2 separate regions of the Homo sapiens genome follow, and region 1 is linked to region 2. The links are contacts of gene promoters, found by promoter capture Hi-C in human tissues and cell types (Jung and others, 2019). All regions are on one chromosome and are shown on one strand. The core of a region is centred on a gene start or on the middle of the fragment in contact, and the rest is flanking DNA. Distances in the headings are between cores, read along the strand shown. Region 1 has its middle 36 kb from the start of C12orf71. Region 2 holds the start of C12orf71 (chromosome 12 open reading frame 71).

Evidence for each region. The method cuts DNA at HindIII sites, captures the fragments that hold promoters and counts their contacts. A contact is called where the count stands out against the background at its distance.
Region 1: a contact is called between a fragment that was not itself captured here and the fragment with the promoter of C12orf71 in region 2, in 1 of the 25 tissues and cell types used here (pancreas).

The regions. Positions count from the first base shown.
Region 1 is chr12:27,116,963-27,121,021 of GRCh38, forward strand. It overlaps the pseudogene LOC124902904. Among named protein-coding and RNA genes, the nearest start is that of C12orf71, 36 kb to the left of the region's middle. The HindIII fragment of the contact is 3,267 bases long and covers 577-3,843 here.
Region 2 is chr12:27,080,912-27,085,097 of GRCh38, forward strand. It overlaps C12orf71 (chromosome 12 open reading frame 71), which reads right to left and starts at 1,667. Exons shown (of 2, transcript NM_001080406.2): 1 at 1,057-1,667; 2 at 146-556. The coding sequence starts at 1,572. The coding sequence ends at 263. The HindIII fragment of the contact is 8,877 bases long and covers 1-4,186 here.

The sequences.
Region 1 (4,059 bases), core at 960-3,459, 37 kb after region 2:
TGAGGAATTTATCCATTTCTTCTAGATTTTCTAGTTTATTTGCATAGAGATGTTTATAGCATGCTCTGATGGTAGTTTGTATTTCTGTGGGATCGGTGGTGATATCCCCTTTATCATTTTTTATTGCGTCTATTTGATTATTCTCTCTTTTCTTCTTTATTAGTCTTGCTAGTGGTCAGTGGTCTATCAATTTTGTTGATCTTTTCAAAAAACCAGCTCCTGGATTCATTGATTTTTGATGGGTTTTTTATGTCTTTATCTCCTTTGGTTCTTCTCTGCTCTTAGTTATTTCTTGCCTTCTGCTAGCTTTTGAATTTGTTTTCTCTTGCTTCTCTAGTTCTTTTAATTGTGATGTTAGAGTGTCAATTTTAGATCTTTCTTGCTTTCTCTTCTGGGCATTTAGTGCTGTAAATTTCCCTCTACACACTGCTTTAAATGTGTCCCAGAGATTCTGGTACATTGTGTCTTTGTTCTCATTGGTTTCAAAGAACATCTTCATTTCTGCCTTCATTTCGTTATTTACCCAGTAGTCATTCAGGAGCCAGTTGTTCAGCTTCCTTGTAGTTGTGCAGTTTTGAGTGAGTTTCTTAATCCTGAGTTCTAGTTTGATTGCACTGTGGTCTGAGAGACAGTTTGTTGTGATTTCTGTTCTTTTACATTTGCTGAGGAGTGCTTTACTTCCAATTATGTGATTAATTTTAGAATATGGGCAATGTGGTGCTGAGAAGAATGTATATTCTGTTGATTTGTGGTGGAGAGTTCTGTAGATGTCTGTTAGGTCTTCTTGGTGCAGAGCTGAAGTCCTGGATATCCTTTTTAACTTTCTGTCTCCTTGATCTGTCTAATGTTGACAGTGGGGTGTTAAAGTCTCCCACTATTATTGTGTGGGAGTCCAAGTCTCTTTATAAGTCTCTAAGAACTTGCTTTATGAATCTGGGTGCTCCTGTGTTGGGTGCATATATATTTAGGATAGTTAGCTCTTCTTGTTGAGTTGATCCGTTTACCATTATGTAATGGCCTACTTTGTCTCTTTTGATCTTTGTAGGTTTAAAGTCTGTTTTATCAGAGACTAGGATTGCAACCCCTGCTTTTTTTTTTGCTTTCCATTTGCTTGGTAGATCTTCCTCCATCCCTTTATTTTGAGCCTATGTGTGTCTTGGCACATGAGATGGGTCTCCTGAATACAGCACACTGATGGGTCTTGACTCTTTATCCAGTTTGCCAGTCTGTGTCTTCTAATTGGGGCATTTAGCCAATTTACATTTAAGGTTAATATTGTTATGTGGGAATTTGATCCTGTCATTATGATGTTCCCTGGTTGTTTTGCCCGTTAATTGATGCAGTTTCTTCCTAGCATTGATGGTCTTTATAATTTGGCATGCTTTTGCAGTGGCTGGTACTGGTTGTTCCTTTCCATGTTTAGTGCTTCCTTCAGGAGCTCTTGTAAGGCATGCCTGGTGGTGACAAAATCTCTCAGCATTTGCTTGTCTGTAAAGGATTTTATTTTTCCTTCACTTATGAAGCTTAGTTTGGCTGGTATGAAATTCTGGCTTGAAAATTCTTTTCTTTAAGAATGTTGAATATTGGCCCACACCCTCTTCTGGCTTGTAGGGTTTCTGCCGAGAGATCAGCTGTTAGTCTGATGGGCTTCCCTTTGTGGGTAACCCGACCTTTCTCTCTGGCTGCCCTTAACATATTTTCCTTCATTTCAACTTTGGTGAATCTGACAATTATGTGTCTTGGAGTTGCTCTTCTCGAGGAGTATTTTTGTGGTGTTCTCTGTATTTCCTGAATTTGAATGTTGGCCTGCCTTGCTAGGTTGGGGAAATTCTTCTGGATAGTATCCTGCAGAGTGTTTTCCAACTTGGCTCCATTCTCCCCATCACTTTCAGGTACACCAATCAAACGTAGATTTGGTCTTTTCACATAGTCCCATATTTCTTGGAGGCTTTGTTCGTTTCTTTTTACTTTAGAGTTTCTTTTCTGTTTCTTTTTACTTTGTTCGTTTCTTTTTACTTTAGAGTTTTTAGAGAAAAAACTCTAAACTTGTCTTCTTGCTTTATTTCATTAATTTGATCTTTAATCACTGATACCCTTCCTTCCACTTGATGGAATTGGCTATTGAAGCTTATGCATCCATCACAAAGTTCTCATGCCATGGTTTTCAGCTCCATCAGGTCATTTAAGGTCTTCCCTACACTCCTTATTCTAGTTAGCCATTCATCTAACCTTTTTTCAAGGTTTTTACCTTCTTTGTGATGGGTTAGAACATGTTCCTTTAGCTCAAAGAAGTTTATTATTACCAACCTTCTGAAGTCTATTTCTGTCAACTTGTCAAAGTCATTCTTTGTTCTGTTGCTGGCGAGGAGCTATGATCCTTTGGAGGAGAAGAGGTGCTCTGGTTTTTAGAATTTTCAGCTTTTCTGCTCTGGTTTCTCCCCATCTTTGTGGTTTTATCTACCTTTGGTCTTTCATGTTGGTGACCTACAGATGGTGTTTTGGTGTAGATGTCCTTTTTGTTGATGTTGATGCTATTCCTTTCTGTTTGTTAGTTTTCCTTCTAAGAGTCAGGTCCCTCAGCTTCAGGTCTGTTGGAGTTTGCTGGAGGTCCACTCCAGACCCTGTTTGCCTGGGTATCACCAGCAGAGGCTGCAGAACTGCAATTATTGCAGAACAGCAAATATTGGTGCCTGATCCTTCCTCTGGAAGCTTCATCCCAGAGGGGCACTCATCTGTATGAGGTGTCTGTCAGCTCCTACTGGGAGATGTCTTCCAGTTAGGCTACATGGGGGTCAGCGACCCACTTGAGGAGGCAGTCTGTCCATTCTCAGAGCTCAAGCACCATGCTGGGAGAGCCCCTGCTCTCTTCAGAGCTTTCAGACAGGGACGTTTAAGTCTGTGGAAGTCTGCTGTCTTTTGTTCAGCTATGCCCTGCCCCCAGGGGTGTAGTCTATAGAGGCAGTAGGCCTTGCTGAGCTGCAGTGGGCTCTGCCCAGTTCAAGCTTCCCTTGGCTACTTTTGTTTACCTACTCAAGCCTCAGCAATGGCAGACGCCCCTCCCCCAGCCAGGCTACAGCCTTGCAGGTCAATCTCAGACTGCTGCTAGCCAGTGAGCAAGGCTCCGTGGGCATGGGACCCACCAATCCAGGTATGAGAGGGAATCTCCTGGTCTGCCGGTTGCTAAGACCATGGGAAAAGCACAGTATTTGTGCGAGAGTGTCCCGTTTTTCCAGGTACAGTCTGTCATGGCTTCTCTTGGCTAGGAAAGGGAAATCCCCTGACCTCTTGCACTTCCCGGGTGAGGCGATGCCCAGCCCTGCTTTGCCTCGCCCTCCATGGGCTGCACCCACTATCCAACCAGTCCCAATGAGATGAACCAGGTACCTTAGTTGGAAATGCAGAAATCACCCGTCTTCTGCATTGATCATGCTGGGAGCTGCAGACAGAGCTGTTCCTATTCGGCCTTCTTGGAACGGAACTGCAAAATACTTTTTAAATGAAAGAGAATGCAAGCCACTTAATTATGTAATTCAGCTTGATCCTTTATGCTCTCAGTTTTCATGTTTTGAGTTTCCCATACTGGAGTGTGGTTATTAAATGTGTGTCCTACTTCTTTGGATGGTGCACTGGCTGAGTGTGTGAGTAAATTTTTTAGAATGACCTAGGTTCATAACCTAACTTGTTGATTCCTTGTTTTCTGGGTAACTGTAGACACATAAATTGAGTATTTTCATGCTGTAGTATTTCCACAATAAATGGTGGTGATATTTTTCACCTTTGGAAGTCAGTAAAGTTCTGGAAAATCCTTAGGTGAAATGACTTTAAATCAAAATAATATTTTACAACAATTATATGGCATTATGTTAGAATGAATGCATAATTGGAAACTCATCCAAGAAGCTGGTACGAGAACTATAAATATATTTGTGAAAATAAAGTGGTGAGATTTGGCTGCTTAGAAACAGAGGGCAAAGGTTTCTGTGAAACAGCATGTGCCCTTTATTCCCCAGGTGTTTGCTCTATCACAGTATCTATAACATAGTAAGAGCTTTATTCGGG
Region 2 (4,186 bases), core at 417-2,916:
CCTGGCTGGTCTCAAACTCCTGATCTCAGGTGATCCACCTGCCTGCCGCAGCCTCCCAAAGCGCTGGGATTACAGGTGTGAGCCACTGCGCCTGGCCCACATATGCTTGAAATGTGAGTCAAGATGGTGTGCTGGGAGAGGAAGATGTGGGGTAACAAGAGCATTTATTTTGTTTATTGAGGAAAAAACAAACTGATGGGGATTATTAATGGAATCCTTATTATGGATTATTTTAAACTTTCCAAAAAGTTTAAAAATCTGTCTATATGGGATGTCCTAATTCAAGGGTTTCTTGAGGTTGAATTCTCTTGCCTCTGTGAAAGAGTCTTTTCGTTGGTGCTGACCGATGGGGACTTTTGGTGGCATTCACAGGGTGATCCCTCCTCAGCAGAGAGGGGAGGATACGCTGCCTCAGCCAGCTGAAGGCCCACCCAAAGTTCAGGCAGCACTGGGCCTGTGTGTGTGAAGGAGTGTCATCCTTCTCTGGCTGCTCTGACAGGATTGAGGAGATCTCTGGAGCGCTTGTCCTTTGGCTGGCGGTTGCCTGGCTTATCATCTGCCATGAAAATGAAGGATGTGTTAGGTAGGAATAACCATGACAACAGCCAAATCAACGTTTACTCATTTGTGGAACTCACATCCTTTTACCAAAAATAGCCCAAGTGTCAATGCAGAGTTTCAATGCTCATCAATACTAAACATATACGTTTTTGGTGGGGAGGGAGATATAGTTAGCCCTTCTCCTTGCTTGCTACCCTCTTGTTTCCCTCAGCATTCCCAGTCTTTTCCCTACAGCTTCACCCTGACTCCTTTCCTTGTTGTCTCCCACTGGTATCACGTCAGTCCCCCTGGGACCTGCCTCCTCCTAGTGGTCATAAGATTCTGTGGTTCAACCCAGGCCTATCCCTTCCTGTCCTGTGAGGCATCTCTGCTCTCCTCAGCCAGCTCATGTCCCTTAAGCCTTAGAGGAGTCTGTGGAGACTACATAACATCTTTATTTTCTGGTGGCTTGCACTTGGGCAGGTCTTGACAAGCATCATATTCCTGATGACTGACCTGAACCATTTCCGGAGGGGAGCCGCTGGATAGCTGGAAATCTTGCTGAGCAGTTTCAGGAAATACAGCGTCATCATCTTTCAGATTTTCTAGAAATATCTGAAACTCTTGCACAAGATTATTCAGTTTGCCAACAGACAGTTTTGTTCTCTCTTTTGGTAACTTGTCTATCCACAGGTTGTCTCCATTTAGAAGCCTATTAGCTCTTGAGTCTGTGTTATCGGAGCCAATGTCCACGTCCCAGGCCAGGAAGATGCTTAGTTTGCAAAACTGCTCTGGTTCATCCTGAATTTGGTCTTGTCTCTTCATGCGTCTCCCTATCCTTTCAGTCCCCCATGCCCCTTGGACGGGAGGCAGAAAGTGGATGGAAGGACCCTTGGAAGGTGCATCTTCCCAGGAGGTTGTGTCCTCACAGGGGGTGTCCTCACAGGGGAAATAGCCCACAGAGAGGCTCAGGTTGGAATTGGATTTGGAGCTGTCGTCCTCTATGTCGCTGTTAGAGGATGAATATGCCATGGAGTTCAAAGGCACAAATTTCTCTCAACTTGAGAAGCTTCAAAAAAGAAAAAAGAAAAAATAGGTGGGACTAAGGAGAAGAGAGTCATAGTACTTAAGCAAAAACATTATCCATTCCCTTCTCTTTTTTCTTTTTTTTTTTTTGAGACGAAGTCTCACTCTGTCTCCCAGGCTGGAATGCAGTGGTGTGATCTTGGCTCACTGCAACCTCAGCCTCCCGAGTAGCTGGGACTACAAGCACACGCCACCACACCTGGCTAATTTTTGTATTTTTAGTAGAGATGGGGTTTCACCATGTTGACCAGGCTGGTCTCGAACTCCTGACCTCAGGTGATCCACTCACCTTTGCCTCCAAAGTGCTGGGATTATAGGTGTGAGCCACCACACCCGGCCCCATTCCCTTTTCTATTCAGAACTACCCCATTTAGATAGAAGTATTATCCAATAGTTTTTGTTTGTTTTTGTTTTTTTTTTTGAGATGGAGCCTCGCTCTGTTGTCCAGGCTGGAGTTCAGTGGTGTGATGTCAGCTCACCGCAACCTCCGTCTCCTGGATTCAAGAGATTGTCTTGCCTCAGCCTCCCGGGTAGCTAGGACTACAGGCACATGCCACCATGCCCAGCTAATTTTTTGTATTTTTAGTAGAGAAGGGGTTTCACCATGTTAGCCAGAAAGGTCTTGACCTGACCTCGTGATCTACCTGCCTCGGCCTCCCAAAGTGCTGGGATTACTGGCATGAGCCACCAGGCCTGGCCAGTGTTATCCAGTTTTTACAATCTCTCAGTGAAGGGCAGAAGAGGCAGCCCTCTCCCTTTTAAAACTTATTTCATTGTATTATAATCCTCTCTACTAAGCATCTCCACTTCTCATCATTTGTCCTACTGTGGTTGTAAGATCTTGTATCATAAAAGAAAAGGATGATCATTGTATAAAATTGGAAAAATATAGGAAAGTATGAAGATGAAATAAATATGCTGTAGTCCTACCTTCTAAAGATAATGATAACTATCAAAACATTTTGATGGACTTCCTTATCTTTTCTATTTATATAAACACACATATACATATCTGTACATTTATACAATATGTCCACATACACATATACATATATGTAAATGTGGATATGACATATAGTTGAAACTGAAATTATTTTATCCCATAGCCTACAACAAACATATATATGGTTACTCTGCAATTTTTAACCACTTCTTATTAATGCTAAATAAATCTGTAATAAACCCGCTTTTCCATAAATCTTTGACTATGTCTCTTATTTTTCTATATGTAGGATTAATGGACCAAACCCCATAAATATATTAAAGTCTTGTGGTAGTTGATACCAAATTACTTTCCAGAAGGTTTTGGTATTTAGATGCCCATCCTCCCACCGTCTGATGACACTGTTTAGTCCAGCTTTTTCTGTGAAGCCCCAGAGTAAGTAGGGCTGGAAGAATGTGCACGTGCATGCACGCGTGCACGCGCGCACACACAGACACACACACACAAACAAAAGACTGTCACACCCTGCTCTGGTGGCTGCCCACGTGGAAGAAGTGCTGCTAACTCCTGAGGCAAAAAAAGGAGACACGAGAAATCCTTCACATCCCGAGTCTCCGTGGCTAAAAGTCCAGCTGTCAGAAGTCTGTGTTCTGAGACTGTTGGTTACCATGGCAACAGAAAGAACCAAGTTAGAGCCAGGAATGTGGAAAGAGAAAAGGAAAAAAGGGGACAGAAAGCCACAGAATCTATCCCTTTGTTTCCAAAATATTCTATGCCCATACCATCCTAGGCTGAAGAGGATCCCTCTTGAGTGTAGAAGAACGAATGCATGGAGTTTACTTCTCTCTTGTCAGGTGGCAGATGGTTCCCGTCCTTAGGAGATTTAGAGCTCTAAATAAGGGGCATGGGTATAAACATACACATACATACACACACAGAGACATGCTTACAAATGGAAAGCAGAAAGCCAAGAAACACTTATCTGACCTACCTATTGGATTCATCAGTTTTCTTAAGATCTTTCCCCAATATTTGTCTCTCTCCATTTCCATTATACAAGATTACAGTTAAAGTTTGTCGTGACTCACTCTCAGGTTTTTCACTGTAGAACTGGCTTAAATTTGTATATTCTGTTAAATAAGATGTTTAAGGAATTCTGATGACATGATAGAAGAAATAGGCAGAGTTAGAGTTGGAAAGAAGCAGCTTCTACTACCCAACAGAGGCAGCCTGGCAGGTGCCCACAGACTGCTCACAACTCCCCTGAGTGATTGTGGACCTGGATTAATCCTGGAAGGTGTTTAAGTCAGAAGCCACATGTTCCCTGGCATTTATTTATTTATTTGAGATGGTGTCTCACTTTGTCACCCAGGCCAGAGTGTAGTGTCATGGTCTGAGCTCACTGCAACCTCCACCTCCCGGGTTCAAGCGATTATCCTGCCTCAGCCTCCTGAGTAGCTGGGGATTACAGGCATGGACCACCATGCCTGGCTAATTTTTTGTGTTTTTAGTAGAGACGAGATTTCTCCATGTTGGCCAGGCTGGTCTCAAACTCCTGACCTCAAGTGATCCGCCCTCCTTGGCCTCCCAAAGTACTGGTATTACAGGCGTGAGCCA